Linked DNA regions of Homo sapiens: region 2 is linked to region 1. The links are contacts of gene promoters, found by promoter capture Hi-C in blood cells and fetal thymus (Javierre and others, 2016). All regions are on one chromosome and are shown on one strand. The core of a region is centred on a gene start or on the middle of the fragment in contact, and the rest is flanking DNA. Distances in the headings are between cores, read along the strand shown.

Region 1 (3,260 bases), core at 746-3,245:
AAGGGCTCCTCCCACCTCCACCTGTTGCCCCAGTTGAAAAGCATCCATTATGAGCTGAGGTCAGCCTGGATCTGGAATTGCAGCCCACATAAACATAAAGGAGGATGTCCCTGGTCTGTTCCATCCCCACGGATGGTGTTGCTGCTGGGCAACAGTGTTGGCTTCTTTTAAGTACCCCCTTTCCTCCTCACCCACCTCCAAACTGACTAGCACTCAGAGGGACTTATGATAAAGGTTCAGCTCCAGGGGTAGTACCTGAGTGTGTGCCATGCCCCTTCAGACCAGCTGCTTCCATCAGAATTCCAGGGTCACAGCCCCAACAGAAGCAGCAGTGCCTCTGTAGGAGGGGTGCTGGGCTCTGGCCTTCTCATGCAGAGAGGTCCGGGACAGGGTCAGTATCGTGGGCATGTGTATAGCTTCCCAAGTTCTTTTACAGTCCCTGCTGGGACTCCCTGACTTACTTTGGTTGGTTCCTAGTGCTACTTGTTTTACAAACTACACTTTGTAGAATTGATTAGATTACCTTGTTTATTTAATGTGAGTTTGTGCCTTTTTGTCTCAATCTTCCAATACAGGTATATTGAGAAAAAAAGCAGTCTAATAAAATCCTAGACAGAACTTTCTGGAGTCCAGTTTGGTGATGTCCATTTTCCAGCTGTATGTATCCTCAAACTTGCACTGATAACCGCCATTTTACCAGGGCAGGATTAGGAAGAGGTACAAAGGTGTGTCTGAAAATTTTTGCACGTGGATTTCTGCATATAATAGTCCCGTGTCAGTTTACTTATGCAAACATTGCACATCTGAATTGTAATTCGGCCGTTTCCTACTGACAGGATGTCCTTTTGCTTTTGTCTGCCTCCTCTTCACATCTTCCTCTTTATCCACCCTACCAAACAAGCAAAACATTTATTTAAAGTAGTTTTAGGCCGGGCGCGGTGGCTCACACCTGAAATCGCAGCACTCTGGGAGGCCGAGGCGGGTGGATCAGCTGAGGTCAGGAGTTCGAGACCAGCCTGACCAACATGGCGAAACCCCATCTCGGCTAATTATTATTATTATTTTTTTTTTTTGAAACGAAGTCTCGCTCTGTCGCGCAGGCTGGGGTGCAGTGGCGCAATCTCGGCTCACTGCAACCTCCACCTCCCGGGTTCAGGCGATTCTCCTGCCTCAGCCTCCCGAGTAGCTGGGATTAACAGGCGCGCGCTATCAAGCCCAGCTAGCTTTTGTGTTTTTAGCAGAGACGGGGTTTCACCATGTTAAGGCCAGGCTGGTCTTAAACTCCTGACCTCAAGTGAGCCGCCCGCCTCGGCCTCCCAAAGTGCTGGGATTACAGGCATTGAGCCACCGCGCCCCGGCCTACGTTTCATTTATTGACGGCTAATTCTGTAGGAGTCCAGGAATCCCCAAACGTCCCATATGCAATAGGTAATCCAATAAGTTTGGAGTAGAAGCCTGAAAGTGGGCGTGGAGAACGGAGGCGCTCCCGCAGTAGCAGGAATGGGGAGATTACCTGCAGCCGGGGGGCGGGGGAGACCGGATCCCAGGCAGGACAGTGGCTAGGCTGCGTGTCCCCACCCCCGACCCTCGTTTGACCCCTGGGAGCCGGGGCGAAGACAGCACAAGGACGGAGCCCTCGGATCCCTCACGAGTGGGGCAGAGGCTGCGGCGGCGGCGAAGAGACAACTTCCGCCGGAAGACGGCCCCTGGCGCGGGGCACGCTGGGAGCTGCGGACGGCGGGCGCGGGCTGGGCCGGGTCTAGTGGCGGCCGCACACCTCGCGTCGTCTGGGGCAGTGTTGCGCGTGCGCTGATGACAGGCCCGACACGCCCCTCTTACGTCCGCGAACCCGTCTTCGCTCAGCCTCTCGCAGCTTTGCGCTCGTGGGAGAGTCCCGCCTCCTTCTGCGAACCGCACCACCCAGATCCCGGGGTGCGCGGAGGGCGCGTCTCTGACGGAAGCCGGGGCGGACGGTCGGAGTCCGGAAGAAAAACAGTCCGCGACAGCTAGGCGCGTGAGACCGGCCGCCCGCAGGGCTGCTCTGGCCGGGACCCGCTGGCCGGGAGACGCGAACCTGCCGGACCACCGCGCGGGGACGACGGCGGCCATGAGCTCGCGGAAGCTGAGCGGGCCGAAAGGCAGGAGGCTCAGGTGAGGGCACCCTGGCGGCAGAGGCAGGCCTGCTCGGGGGGATCGGCGCCCCTTGGGCTGCGGGCTGGGGGTGGACAAGGCACCAGACCTCCATGACTGCCTTTGGTTCAGAGGCGCTCTCGCCTTCTCCCACGCCTGTGTCAGGTGGGCTGTGTTGGGCCCGAGCCTCGCGCCCCCTCTAAGCCGAGGCCGCCAAGCTCGTTCCCACTGGGGCGCAGCAGGTGTCCCGGTTGCTTTCTGGAGAGGACAGCCGTGTGGGGTTGTTTGAGGTTAAAGACATAACGAGGCCGTCACCCTTCGGCTCTCGGTTAGAAATCTTTTTCCTACTTTTCATCAGCACATACATCAGGAGGTCTGCCTGATCCCATGGTGAACCCCGGGAATCCGAAATCAGATTGAGATAAGATCCTTTAGGGAAGTGACTTAGCCTGGTCTCTTGCCTGCTCTTTCACGGGGAACAACGCTAATCGCCCACTTAGTCTAAGTCACGATGCTTGGATTTGCTGCTAATCGTCGGATTTGAGAGTGGGAACAAGAAATCCGGACTTTTGCTCTCCATCCTCTTAGAGTGAGTCTGGGAAAAGAAGTCTCTGAGTAAAAGGTCTTTGTTCCTTAAGCCTCTGTCGGACAGCAGGGGGAGATCGTAAACAAATGAAGCTCAAAATCTCAGGCCGAGTGCCTGGGAAGGTGGTTTCTGTATAGTGTTGTTTATGCTAACAGGGAGGGACAGGAAGTTGCTTTAAACTGGCCAAGAATTTCTTGAAGTGCTTTTGAGAACGTCGACCTCTAAGGACGGGGTCTGTTGGAGGAGAGATGTTTTGGCATTAACTGCCCTTTTCTCCCATCCCCCTGTACCCTCTGCCATTCCAGATCTCCAGCTGCTGCAGGTACTCCTCATCGTGTGCCTAGGACTCATGCTAGGCTGTTCCTGGTCTCTGCAGGGTCTGTAGCTCCTGCCCGCTCTGTGCTCCGCACAGTCTGAGGCTTCTTGAAGAGCTGCTGTGACTGACTGTTCCACTAAAGACATCTGTAGGTCTCTCTTTCCTGAGCCTCTGACTGGATCCAGTGTCATTGAGGCCCCTTATCTAGTTTTCTTGCTTCCCTAAGAC
Region 2 (3,362 bases), core at 648-3,147, 260 kb after region 1:
CCTGGCTAATTTTTTTGTATTATTATTATTTTGAGACGGACTCCCGCTCTGTCGCCCAGGCTGGAGTGCAGTGCCGCGATCTGGGCTCACTGCAAGCTCCGCCTCCCGGGTTCACGTCATTCTCCTGCCTCAGCCTCCCGAGTAGCTGGGATTACAGGCACCTGCCACCACGCCTGGCTATTTTTTTTTTTTTTTGTATTTTTAGTAGAGACGGGGTTTTGCCACGTTGGCCAGGCTGGTCTCGAACTCCTGACCTTGTGATCCGCCCGTCTCGGCCTCCCAAAGTGCTGGGATTACAGGCGTGAGCCACCGCGCCTGGCGGACATTGGGATTTAAGATTTCAAGGCAGGATTAGGCTGAGGTCCTCGGGTGGCCGTGTGACCTCTGCACACCCAGAAGCGCCTTCCTCCCTGCGCCTGCGCCAGGTCCAGCTTTGGGCTCCTGGGGTCTCAGCCAGTGCGCGGTCTTCCTGCCTCAGCTCCACGGGGAGCTCTTGGACGCTCCGCAGCGCTTTCGCAGAGTCCCCAGTTCTCCCGTCCCGCCGGGACTCCAGGAAGGGGTGAGTGTTTGAAGGCTCCTCCCACGGAGCGTGAGCATTTCCTGTACAGCAGCTGGGCAGCCTCTCAGCGGACTGGTGTGAGCTGGGGCTGCGGGGAAGGTTCCAGAACAGCGGGCTATGTTTAACCTGGCACAGGTGCCCAATTCCCAGCTCAGGGAAGGGGCGTGGTAGGTGGGAAACAATCTTGCTTTCATTGTTTTTTATCATTGCATTATTTTTTACATTAAAAAAATTTTTTTTGAGACAGAGTCTTGCTCTGTCGCCAGGCTAGAGTGCAATGGCACGATCTCGGCTCACTGCAACCTCCGCCTCCCGGGTTCAAGCGATTCTCGGCCGGGCGCGCTGGCTCAAGCCTGTAATCCCAGCACTTTGGGAGGCCGAGGCGGGCGGATCACGAGGTCAGGGGTTCGAGACCAGTCTGACCAACACGCTGAAACCCCGTCTCTACTAAAAATTCAAAAAATTAGCCAGGCTTGGTGGGGGGCGCCTGTAGTCCCAGCTACTCGGGAGGCTGAGGCAGGAGAATCGCTTGAACCTGGGAGGCGGAGGTTGCAGTGAGCCGAGATTGCACCATTGCACTCCAGCCTGGGCGACAGAGTGAGATTCCATCTCAAAAAAAAAAAAAAAAAAAAAAAAATAGCCATTCTCCTGCCTCAGCCTCCCGAGTATCTGGGATTACAGGCGCCCTCCAACATGCCAGCCTAATTTTTGTATTTTTAGTAGAGACGGCATTTCACCATGTTGGCCAGGCTGGTCTCAAACTCCCAACCTCAGGTGATCCTTCTATCTCAGCCTCCCAAAGTGCTGGGATTACAGGCGTGAGCCACTGCACCCAGCCCATCGTTTATTATTTTATTAAACATTTAGGATGCTGGATTCAGTGGGCATCTTCACCTGGTTTCATTACTAGTTTTCCTTTTCACAAATCCTTCCGGCTTGTTATTAAGAAATAACTTTAGGGGCCGGGCGCGGTGGCTCACGCCTGTAATCCCAGCACTTTGGGAGGCCAAAGTGGGCAGATCACGAGGTCAGGAGATTGAGACCATCCTGGCTAACACGGTGAAATCCCGTCTCTACTAAAAATACAAAAAATTAGCCAGGGGTGGTGACGGGCCCCTGTAGTTCCAGCTACTCGGGAGGCTGAGGCAGGAGAATGGCTTGAACCCGGGAGGCGGAGCTTGCAGTGAGCGGAGATTGCACCACTGCACTCCAGCCTGGGCGACAGAGCGAGACTCCATCTCAAAAAAAAGAAAAAAAAGAAATAACTCTCTCCCCCAGGGGCCAAAGAGGGCCGGGGAGAAAATGAAATTGACCAAGTGTCAATGAACGAGGGCAGGGGAGGGATAAATGCTCCATCCTGCTCCTTCAGCAGTGGGCGTGGGTCCAAAACGACTGTTAGACTCATAAATTGCTCACTTATCCTCCCTGTTTGCTCCAAATGGCTGGAAAAGCTATTTCTGCTAATCACAGGCGTAGGCCCGTTGCTGGAAGGGGGCCAGCCTGGGCCCAGCAGGAGTGTGAATTGCACCCGGATTCATTATCTGTATCTAGTCCCACATTTTAGTGGTAGGTTTTTGTTTGATTTCAAAGTGAGATGGTTAGGTCATTATTTGTTAAATTATAGCTTTTAATTAGCAGATCTATTGAAATGAAAAGCCTGGAAGAGACACACACACACACACACGCCGCTAAGTTTTTGTTTGGAATTTATAATTATTACTGTTAGGAAAACATTAGTTGGGGGCGTTAAAGTCATTTTTTTTTTTAAAGAAAATCTTCAAATTATGCGCTGTTGGGGGAAGGGGGGAGGGAGACACCAGTGAGCTAGAGACCTCCCGTAATGCCAACAGTATTATTACCCAGCCCCGGGTCCTTGTCTTTTTAGAAAGAAAGGGAACAGATGGGTTTATAGTAATTCATATTCTTTCTCCTCACGGCGGGAATCAGAGATTAAATCAGTGGGTAACCAAGACTGGCTGCCATGGAGTTCTGCTCCGTTCCTAATTCCCCTGGAAGGTAGGGAGGATGGTTGAGGGGCGGTGGGGTTGGAGCAGGGCAGTGTGGTGGGGAGTGGGTCAGCCTTGGTAGATTTGCCTCTGGGGGTTTAGTTTCTGCCTTTTGGAGGAACAAGGAGAGGCTAATATTCTCTCTCTCTCTTTTTTTTTTTTGAGTCTTGCTCTGTCGCCCAGGCTGGAGTGCAACAGCGAGATCTCAGCTCACTGCAACCTCCGCCTCCCGGGTTCAAGTGATTCTCGTGCCTCAGCCTCCCGAGTAGCTGGGACTACAGCGTGCACCCACTCCCGGCTAATTTTTGTATTTCTAGTAGAGATGGGGTTTCAACATGTTGGCCAGGCTGGTCTCGAACTCTTGACCTCGTGATCCACCTGTCTCGGCCTCCCAAAGTGCTGGGATTACAGGCGTGAGCCATGGTGCCTGGCCGGCAGTGATCTTGATCCCCACCCTCTTCCCCAGGGTTGGGGTGCGGGGGTGAGTTCCAATTCAGATGTCTTCCATCTTCTCTTATTTTGAAGCCCCTTCCTTTGAAAACAGGACACTTTGCAAAGGTCACTTGTAACCAGAGGCTTTCTGGTTGTGTGTTAAGGGTTTTTCTGAGTGAGCTTTCCCAGAAGGGGAGATGAGAAAATAGCCTATTAATAAATAGCACGTTGTTCTAAAAGAGTTAGGGGCTTCTGGCCAGGCGTGGTGACTCACACCTGTAATCCCAGCACTTTGGGAGGCCGAGACAGCTGGATCACGAGGTCAGGAGATCGAGACCATCCTGGCTAACACAGTGAAACTCTGT

What was found. Contacts are between HindIII fragments. The CHiCAGO score rates a contact against its expected background, and 5 or more counts as called.
Region 2: a fragment that was not itself captured here is called in contact with the fragment with the promoter of INPP5K in region 1 in 1 of 17 cell types (endothelial precursors); the score reaches 5.7 in endothelial precursors.

Annotation. Positions count from the first base shown.
Region 1 is chr17:1,515,347-1,518,606 of GRCh38, reverse strand. It overlaps INPP5K (inositol polyphosphate-5-phosphatase K), which reads left to right and starts at 1,995. Exons shown (of 12, transcript NM_016532.4): 1 at 1,995-2,151. The coding sequence starts at 2,108. PITPNA (phosphatidylinositol transfer protein alpha) reads left to right here. Exons shown (of 12, transcript NM_006224.4): 12 at 1-889. PITPNA-AS1 (PITPNA antisense RNA 1) reads right to left here and starts at 1,688. Exons shown (of 2, transcript NR_028514.1): 1 at 1,514-1,688; 2 at 511-889. RefSeq lists a silencer at 1,610-1,909. The HindIII fragment of the contact is 10,075 bases long and covers 1-3,260 here.
Region 2 is chr17:1,251,111-1,254,472 of GRCh38, reverse strand. No RefSeq gene overlaps it. Among named protein-coding and RNA genes, the nearest start is that of BHLHA9, 18 kb to the left of the region's middle. The HindIII fragment of the contact is 4,133 bases long and covers 1-3,362 here.